Linked DNA regions of Homo sapiens: region 1 is linked to region 2. The links are contacts of gene promoters, found by promoter capture Hi-C in blood cells and fetal thymus (Javierre and others, 2016). All regions are on one chromosome and are shown on one strand. The core of a region is centred on a gene start or on the middle of the fragment in contact, and the rest is flanking DNA. Distances in the headings are between cores, read along the strand shown. Region 1 overlaps JAKMIP2 (janus kinase and microtubule interacting protein 2). Region 2 holds the start of JAKMIP2 (janus kinase and microtubule interacting protein 2).

Region 1 (3,695 bases), core at 608-3,107, 130 kb before region 2:
TCGTCCAAAGCCTCCTTCTGAAGTTGGAGTTTCTGTACATAGCCTGTCTGGGTCTCCAGTTCCTTTTCCAGGGAAAAGATGATCCTGTCCTTGGCTTTGATTTCATCCATCTGAATTAAATGAGACCCAGGACATTTTATTTAACAATGCTGTAAAGAAATACATTTTTACAATGGTGTAGGTTTAACTTCTTTTATCTGATTGATACAGAAAAAAAATCACGGATTTGATAAGTGTATTGGTTTCATGAGTAAGATGAGGCAACATTGTGTAATGAAGAAGTATCCTGGGTTAATTAGGTGTCAAGGAGAGTAATTTTTTTTCTCTCTAGTATATCCTGTGAAGATGTTTTGACTCAATATATTGTTTGAAATAGTCTGGGTTGATTAGATATGCAAAGGACAGTCTAACTTTAAAATAGCCATTAATTTTAATAAAGATGAACATTAAATATTCCACTCTAATGTTTCCTAGGACATTTTTTGATGTCACTTCTTCTTTGGGCAAATGGGTATTCAGATTCAATCAAAATAGCTGTTGCTCCTGTTAGTAGCTGGTCATTTGTAACTGAAGAAACTTCAGACTTCCCAGTGGCCTAGTCATTTTTCCAAGACTAACATGCTTGCATTCAGGTGATGGATTTGGAGGGAGGTCCTTCCACGGTTCATGTGTTATATCTCTTTCTGTTCTCACTTGTATTTCAGAGCAGCCAGTTCTTAGCAACCATTTTATCATTACTATAAGAAAATCATGGTTGGGATTAACAGGAATAGAAAATATCTGGCAATATTAACCACTATTTTCCCTCCCACATGTGTGAGATATATTTATTGATCCAAATATGCATTTCTGCTAAGCCTGGGCATGGCCTCAGAAGAATTTCTCAACTAAAGGCCACAGGCATTCAATACCAGTTGATTTGAGTTCCCTTGGAATGAAACCTTTTTGCCATCCTAGGATGAGGGCTAATGAAGTGAATGTCTATAAACAATTTTTAAAGAGAGCATAGCCATTGGGTGAAACCTTTCTTATCGTTTCACTATATTCTATGTGTACATTCAAAATGGAGATAAGGAAAAGACATTTAATACAAACAACATTACGCTGTTTTGCTTTTTCTAAAAGTGTCTCCTTATACAAAACAATACTTTTGTATAAATTTTTCTTTGCTGTGTGCTCTTAGACCAGAAAAAAAAAACCTGCAACAGAAATGGTGTTACATAGTCACGTATTTTCCACATATAAATATCTGTGAGCTACTGCCTGTGAGTCACATGCTTAAATTTTAGGTCAATTCTGAGAGAGCTTTGGGCTAAATTCTGCATGATCTTGTAATATCATCTGATAACTTGGTAAGAATTCAATATTGTCCCGTTAATTGGGAATAATAGCATTGTCTTTGGTTTCCGTCTCCTTGTAGAAGACTTGAGACCTGTGTTTTTCTTAACTGAGCAGCATGTTCATTTGTCAGACTTGTCAACTGGAGCATTACTTTTATTTGCAGGTTAACATAGCTCTAGTTACTTTTCATGAGTTGACATAGCTCTAGTTGTTTTTTATGTACTCACCTTGTTAAACTTGTCGAGAAATCATTCTATTACTGCCCACATTCAGCCTCATTATCACCATCATCACAGCTGAAATTTATTGATCTTTCACTATATTCAGGGTACTATACTCAGAGCTTAATATGCCTTATTTTATAACAATCCTATTCAGTAGGTTCAGTCGTCATCATTTTACAGGTGATGACTGAGGACCTGAAAGCTTAAAAACTTGGTCATAGTCATATGTCTAGTAAGTTGTGAAGCCGTATTTTTAATGGAATCTTCTAACTATAGAGCCCATTCTGTTAGGTACTATGCTATACTGGCTTTAAGATTATTCATATACTTTAAGCATTTCCCAAAGTGGTTTCCTGTGGGATATATAGTAATTAGCATTGAGAAAGCTTTATTGCGTAGCAGTTATGAGCATGGACTCTGATCTCAAAATACTGAAAATCAACCAAAGCCCTACTTAGATGGGAAAGGGTATAAACCAGAATTCTCTGGGGAAATTTTCTAGACAGAACAACTCCCATTTCTCTCCCTTTCAGTTCCAAAAATGGAGCTTGGGGTAGGGGTAGGCACAGAGTAAAAAGAAGGAAAAAATGAAGATGAGTATATCTGCGCTATCAAAAAAGTTTCCTATGTTATTCTGTGTTCATGCAGTTTGTGAACTACTCATAAGGTGGCTCAGATTTACTTTTTAAAATTTTAATGTTTATTTTACTTTAAGTTCTGGGATACATGTACAGAATGTGCAGGTTTGTTACATAGGTATACATGTGCCATCGTGGCTTGCTGTACCTATCAACCGGTCCTCTAGGTTTTAAGCCCCGCATGCATTAGGTGTTTGTCCTAATGCTCTCCCTCCCCTTGCCCCCACCACCTGACAGGCCCCAGTGTGTGATGTTCCCCTCCCTTGTCCATGTGTTCTCATTGTTCAACTCCCACTTATGAGCGGGAACATGCAGTGTTTGGTTTTCTGTTCCTGTGTTAGTTTGCTGAGGATGATGGCTTCCAGCTTCATTCATGTCCCTACAAAGGACATGAACTCATTCTTTTTTTATGGCTGCATAGTATTCCATGGTGCACATGTACTGCATTTTCCTTATTCAGTCTATATAATTGATGGGCATTTGGGTTGGTTCCATGTCTTTGCTATTGTAAATAATGCTGCAATAAACATACGTGTGAATGTGCCTTTTAGTAGAATGATTTATATTCCTTTGGATGTATAACCAGTAATGGGATTGCTAGGTCAAAACGTATTTCTGGTTCTAGATCCCTGAGGAATAACCACCCTGTCCTCAACAATGGTTGGACCAATCTACATTCCCACCAACAGTGCAAAAAGTGTTCCTATTTCTCCACAGACTCACCAGCACCTACTGTTGCTTGACTTTTTAATAATTGCCATTCTGACTAGTGTGGGATGGTATCTAATTGTGGTTTTGATTTGCATTTCTCAAATAATCAGAGATGATGAGCTTTTTTTTTTCATGTTTGTTGGCCGCATAAATGTCTTCTTTTGAGAAATGTCTGTTTATATACCTTGCCCACTTTTTGGTGGAGTTGTTTGCTTTTTCTTGTAAATTTGTTTAAGTTCCTTATAGATTCTGGATATTACACCTTTGTCAGAAGGGTAGATTGCAAAATTTTCTCCCATTCTGTAGGTTGTCTGTTCACTCTGATGCGAGTTTCTTTTGCTGTGCAGAAGCCCTTTAGTTTAATTGGATCCCATTTGTCAATTTTGGCAATTGTTGCAATTACTTTTGGCGTTTTCATCATGAAGTCTTTGCCCATGCCTATGTCCTGAATGGTACTGCCTAGGTTTACTTTTAAGGTTTGTATGGTTTTGGGTTTTACATTTAAGTCTTTAATCCATCTTGAGTTAATTTTTGTATAAGGTGTAAGGAAGGGATCCAGTTTCAGTTTTCTGCATATGCCTAGCCAGTTTTCCCAGCACCATGTATTAAGTAGGGAATCCTTTCCTCATTGCTTGTTTTTGTCAGGTTTGTCGAAGATCAGGTGGTTGTAGATGTGTGGTGTTATTTCTGAGGCCTCTGTTCTGTTCCATTGGTCTATATATCTGTTTTGGTACCAGTACTATGCTGTTTTGGTTACTGTAGCCTTGTAGTAGAGTTTGAA
Region 2 (3,721 bases), core at 1,096-3,595:
AAAACAAAGCCCCAGGATATCTGCTTTCATTGCATGAAATGGGGTCAACTAGTACAAATCTTAATTTTTTAAGTGTGCTATAGGCATATCTAACATTTTAATTTTTGGAAGTCAAGTGTTATCACTAAAAGATTCAGGATGCAATGTGTTATACAATTTGTTATAACATACAAGCCCAGTACCTCTTTCCTTGCCCTACTTCATATAGTTGTTAAAATTAGGCACAAAGTAGCATGAGTTTACAAAGCTATGGATCTATAATATATAACATGCTATGAGCACATGCACAATTGAGTCACCAAGGGCCCTTCTCATGTATAAACCAAATAGAACAATTATTCTCAGCAAAATTAAACTATAAACCTGGTTCAAATACATGTGAAAATTATAAATGTGGGGGGTGTATGTAGAATCAGATGCAAGACTAAAGACCCAAACAATTGTTATTTTACATTGTAAAAAATGTCTGTACTGACAATGATATTGTTAGAGAAGAGAATAATGGATAAAACTATAATAGCCCATGTGGTAAATGTAATATTACTAATACACTTTACCTACATAATTTTTTCTGGCTTTAATTCAATGAAATCCATTATCCTGGGCGGGAATGGAACCTCCTCATCTCACGCATCTTTAGTCTCCTGAACTGCCTTAAAGCCTTGACATAATAAAAGGTCAAGCAGATCCCAGTAAGCATTTGTAAATTACAATAGACCCCCATTTCAGCTACAAGCCACACATTCTCCTGCTCGCTTTGCTCACTCTCTGGTTTCATTTCATTGTATAAGCAGACTAATTTGGAAACGGCTGGGCTAGGGTGCTTGGGAATACCTAGATTTTCAAAACAATCCTACTTTCCTACTTAATTATTTACAGAAGGAGACCCTTAATACAACATCTGAGAGAACTGTGAAATGGTTCCTGGATACTGAAGGAATGAACATCAGATAGCAGCACTATTAAATAAAATGAATACATTTCACCTTCCAGCTTAGCTGTGCTTCCTGGGACACAAGGCACAAACATGAAAAGGTTGGGGTGGCATTTCAAGAAAACTGATTTGCTTCAACATTGATTTGGTAAGATGCTAGACACAAAATAATACCACAAACCGCCTCCCATTCCCATCATTGTAAATTCAGAGTCCTCAATATCATCCCCCACAAACCCAATTAAAAATAAAGAGGCAGGCTACAAATTTGCATCTAGTTCTATGACACAGATCAAACGATAGGCATCTGTTCCAATCGGTCACAATGAAACTAAGGGACAATAACCAGAGTAAATTTCACATTAATCCAAATAAAGCCAATGAATAATAATATAAACCAGAAGCATAGTTTCAAAAACATGCAATTACTTCCAGGCATGCAAGGACATATGTAACCCATAAAAATGGTTGCAAAGCACACCCTACATATAAATATGCTTCATAAATGCAATATAAATGCTAAGTGACATGTGTATATATGATCTGTATATCCATAAGATATACATGTGTAAGTTCACAGTCAAATCTACGTATAAAATAAAACTGGGTCTTGCAAATGATTTCTCAACAAGAGTATATTAGAATATAAAATAAAATGTCAAATTCTGGGGCCACTTTTTCTAAGCAATCAATAAAATAAGCAAAACCACCTTATAATGAGTCTGGTAAGCTTATGAGACACCAAATGTATTTCTGAAGAAGGCCCAACCCTGTATGTGAGAGCTGCAAATGAAATGATTCCTTTCAATAACACCCTCTTCTTGTTGTTAGCTCTTTTTCCAACCCCTGATGCTGTTGCTAAGCTTAGGAAAAAAGGCACCAAGTGGCTCAGTCTGCATTCTGAGCCAGTTAGAGATAAAATCAGAACACCATTTTTTTTTTTTAAACACAAGAGGTTGTCTTCTCACTTCTCTCTTCCTGGCAAGCTTCCTCTCCCTCCATCCTCATCTCTGTCTCCACATCTCCCCCTTCTAGTCTGAGGCACGGGAGTCATTGTTCAAGTTCAGGCCAGAAATGTATACACAGGTCAAATAAGAACACTCTAAACCAAGAAGGGAGCCCTACTGTTTCCTACTCACCATGCTGAGACCCGGAGAAGCTGTTTAAAGGAGGGAGAGATGCAAACTGAATCCATTTTCCTTGTGACCGAGTCGGATGCAGCCTCCGAACCCAACATCAGCAGTGGCTGCCGGTTTTTTTTTTCCCTCTGTCTCTGGTTGGCGATGGTGCGAATAGGAACCACCCTTCCAGCCCCACTAGAGTATCAGCAATAGAGGCGGCGGCGGCGGCAGCAGCAGCAGCAGCAGCATCACCAGTTGGGCCTCCTCCCTCTCGGAGGATGGGGTGAGCTCGGAAGCAGCCAGGAACTTGCAGCAGACACCTCCTCTGGCTCCTCCTCTCTCTCTCCCCCTCCCCCAGTGCCCCACCCCTGCTGCGGTAGAGGCTGCTGGCCCGGCAGCTGCTGGTTGCCATGGCAATGACCAATGATAAGCGACCAAGCTCAGGGGGAGGGGAGATGGGCGAAGCAAGCTGCAGGGTCTGGAGGGGAGTGAATTTGTGCTGCTGCCCTCTAGGATGCTCTTGATGTCTCCTACCCTGAACTCCAGGTCTTTTTAAAAATGGGGCAAGGGGGGCTAGGCACGGGGAGAGAATAATTAAAATTTAATTGAAATCTAGATAGAAACATACCAACGGCTTAGCTATTTTTTGCATTTTCTGTGGTTTTCCAATAAAAAGTATGAAATTTATTATCAGAAAAATAACAACAAATGTGGAGAAAATTATGTCGCATAATAGCAGATTATTATTACTTCCAAACGTGTTCGTCCTTTATAGCATCTTTTACTCAATACCAGGCAACAAGGTTTTTAGAAAGCAAACGGAGTGGCTGGACTTTGTAATAAATTAAGAGTCTGGTTGATTCCTTTGCACTACTCCCGGCTTGTTCTCAGGTGAGTTACTTGGTTTCACTGTTTTTCCAGCTACCCTTCTGAACAGGACTTGGAGGTAATTGACACATCCCTGAGGAAAAGTAAGTTTGGATAGAGACCGAAATTCCTTTCAACAACCACTATTCTCGGTAGCACAAGTTGGTGGACAGTTCCCAATCTTTTTAGTGTCAAACTCCTGGAGCATTCAATTTCCTGCAGGCAATTCCTGTCGTTTTCATGGATGCCTTTTTGGAGTTCCGAAGTCAGTTGGCAGTCAGGGTGGTGGGCAGGAAAAGGGGGAAGTGAAATCAGCAATGTCCAGTTCTAGGCGAGTTCTGTTTCTAACTATAAATTATAGATGACACCAGTATTTATCTCGTGGAGGGGTTGTAAAGATTGAATGAGATAATGCACTAAAAGCACTTGGCATATAGTAAGTGTACAATAAATATTTACTATTAGCAGCATAGTAGTACATTGCAGCCATCTCTTAATCTAAGGGTTTAAGGGGAATAACATGGCAATTTCAGGTAGGAGAAAAAATTAAGATGAGAAAATCCAAAGTACGTAATAACCATGATGATGATGGCAAAGACAGAGAGGCCCTAAGAGATTAAGTGTTCTCTACATCTTGATATTTGAGGACATTGTAAATCTCAGAGGAGTTAGATACATTTCCCAAATTCACAACTGATAAACGACAGAACCGGAATCAAAATGGACTCTTCTAACACTTACATTTGCTCTCCTAACCACCACACTTTTCTGCCACTCCTCCATAAAATGGAAATAATCT

The links. The method cuts DNA at HindIII sites, captures the fragments that hold promoters and counts their contacts. A CHiCAGO score of 5 or more calls a contact.
Region 1: a fragment that was not itself captured here is called in contact with the fragment with the promoter of JAKMIP2 in region 2 in 2 of 17 cell types (fetal thymus and megakaryocytes); the score reaches 5.9 in fetal thymus.

What each region holds. Positions count from the first base shown.
Region 1 is chr5:147,650,438-147,654,132 of GRCh38, forward strand. It overlaps JAKMIP2 (janus kinase and microtubule interacting protein 2), which reads right to left. Exons shown (of 22, transcript NM_001270941.2): 4 at 1-110. The region is part of intron 3 of JAKMIP2-AS1 (JAKMIP2 antisense RNA 1); the gene reads left to right. Among named protein-coding and RNA genes, the nearest start is that of JAKMIP2-AS1, 92 kb to the left of the region's middle. The HindIII fragment of the contact is 184 bases long and covers 1,766-1,949 here.
Region 2 is chr5:147,780,383-147,784,103 of GRCh38, forward strand. It overlaps JAKMIP2 (janus kinase and microtubule interacting protein 2), which reads right to left and starts at 2,346. Exons shown (of 22, transcript NM_001270941.2): 1 at 2,074-2,346. The HindIII fragment of the contact is 4,284 bases long and covers 1,919-3,721 here.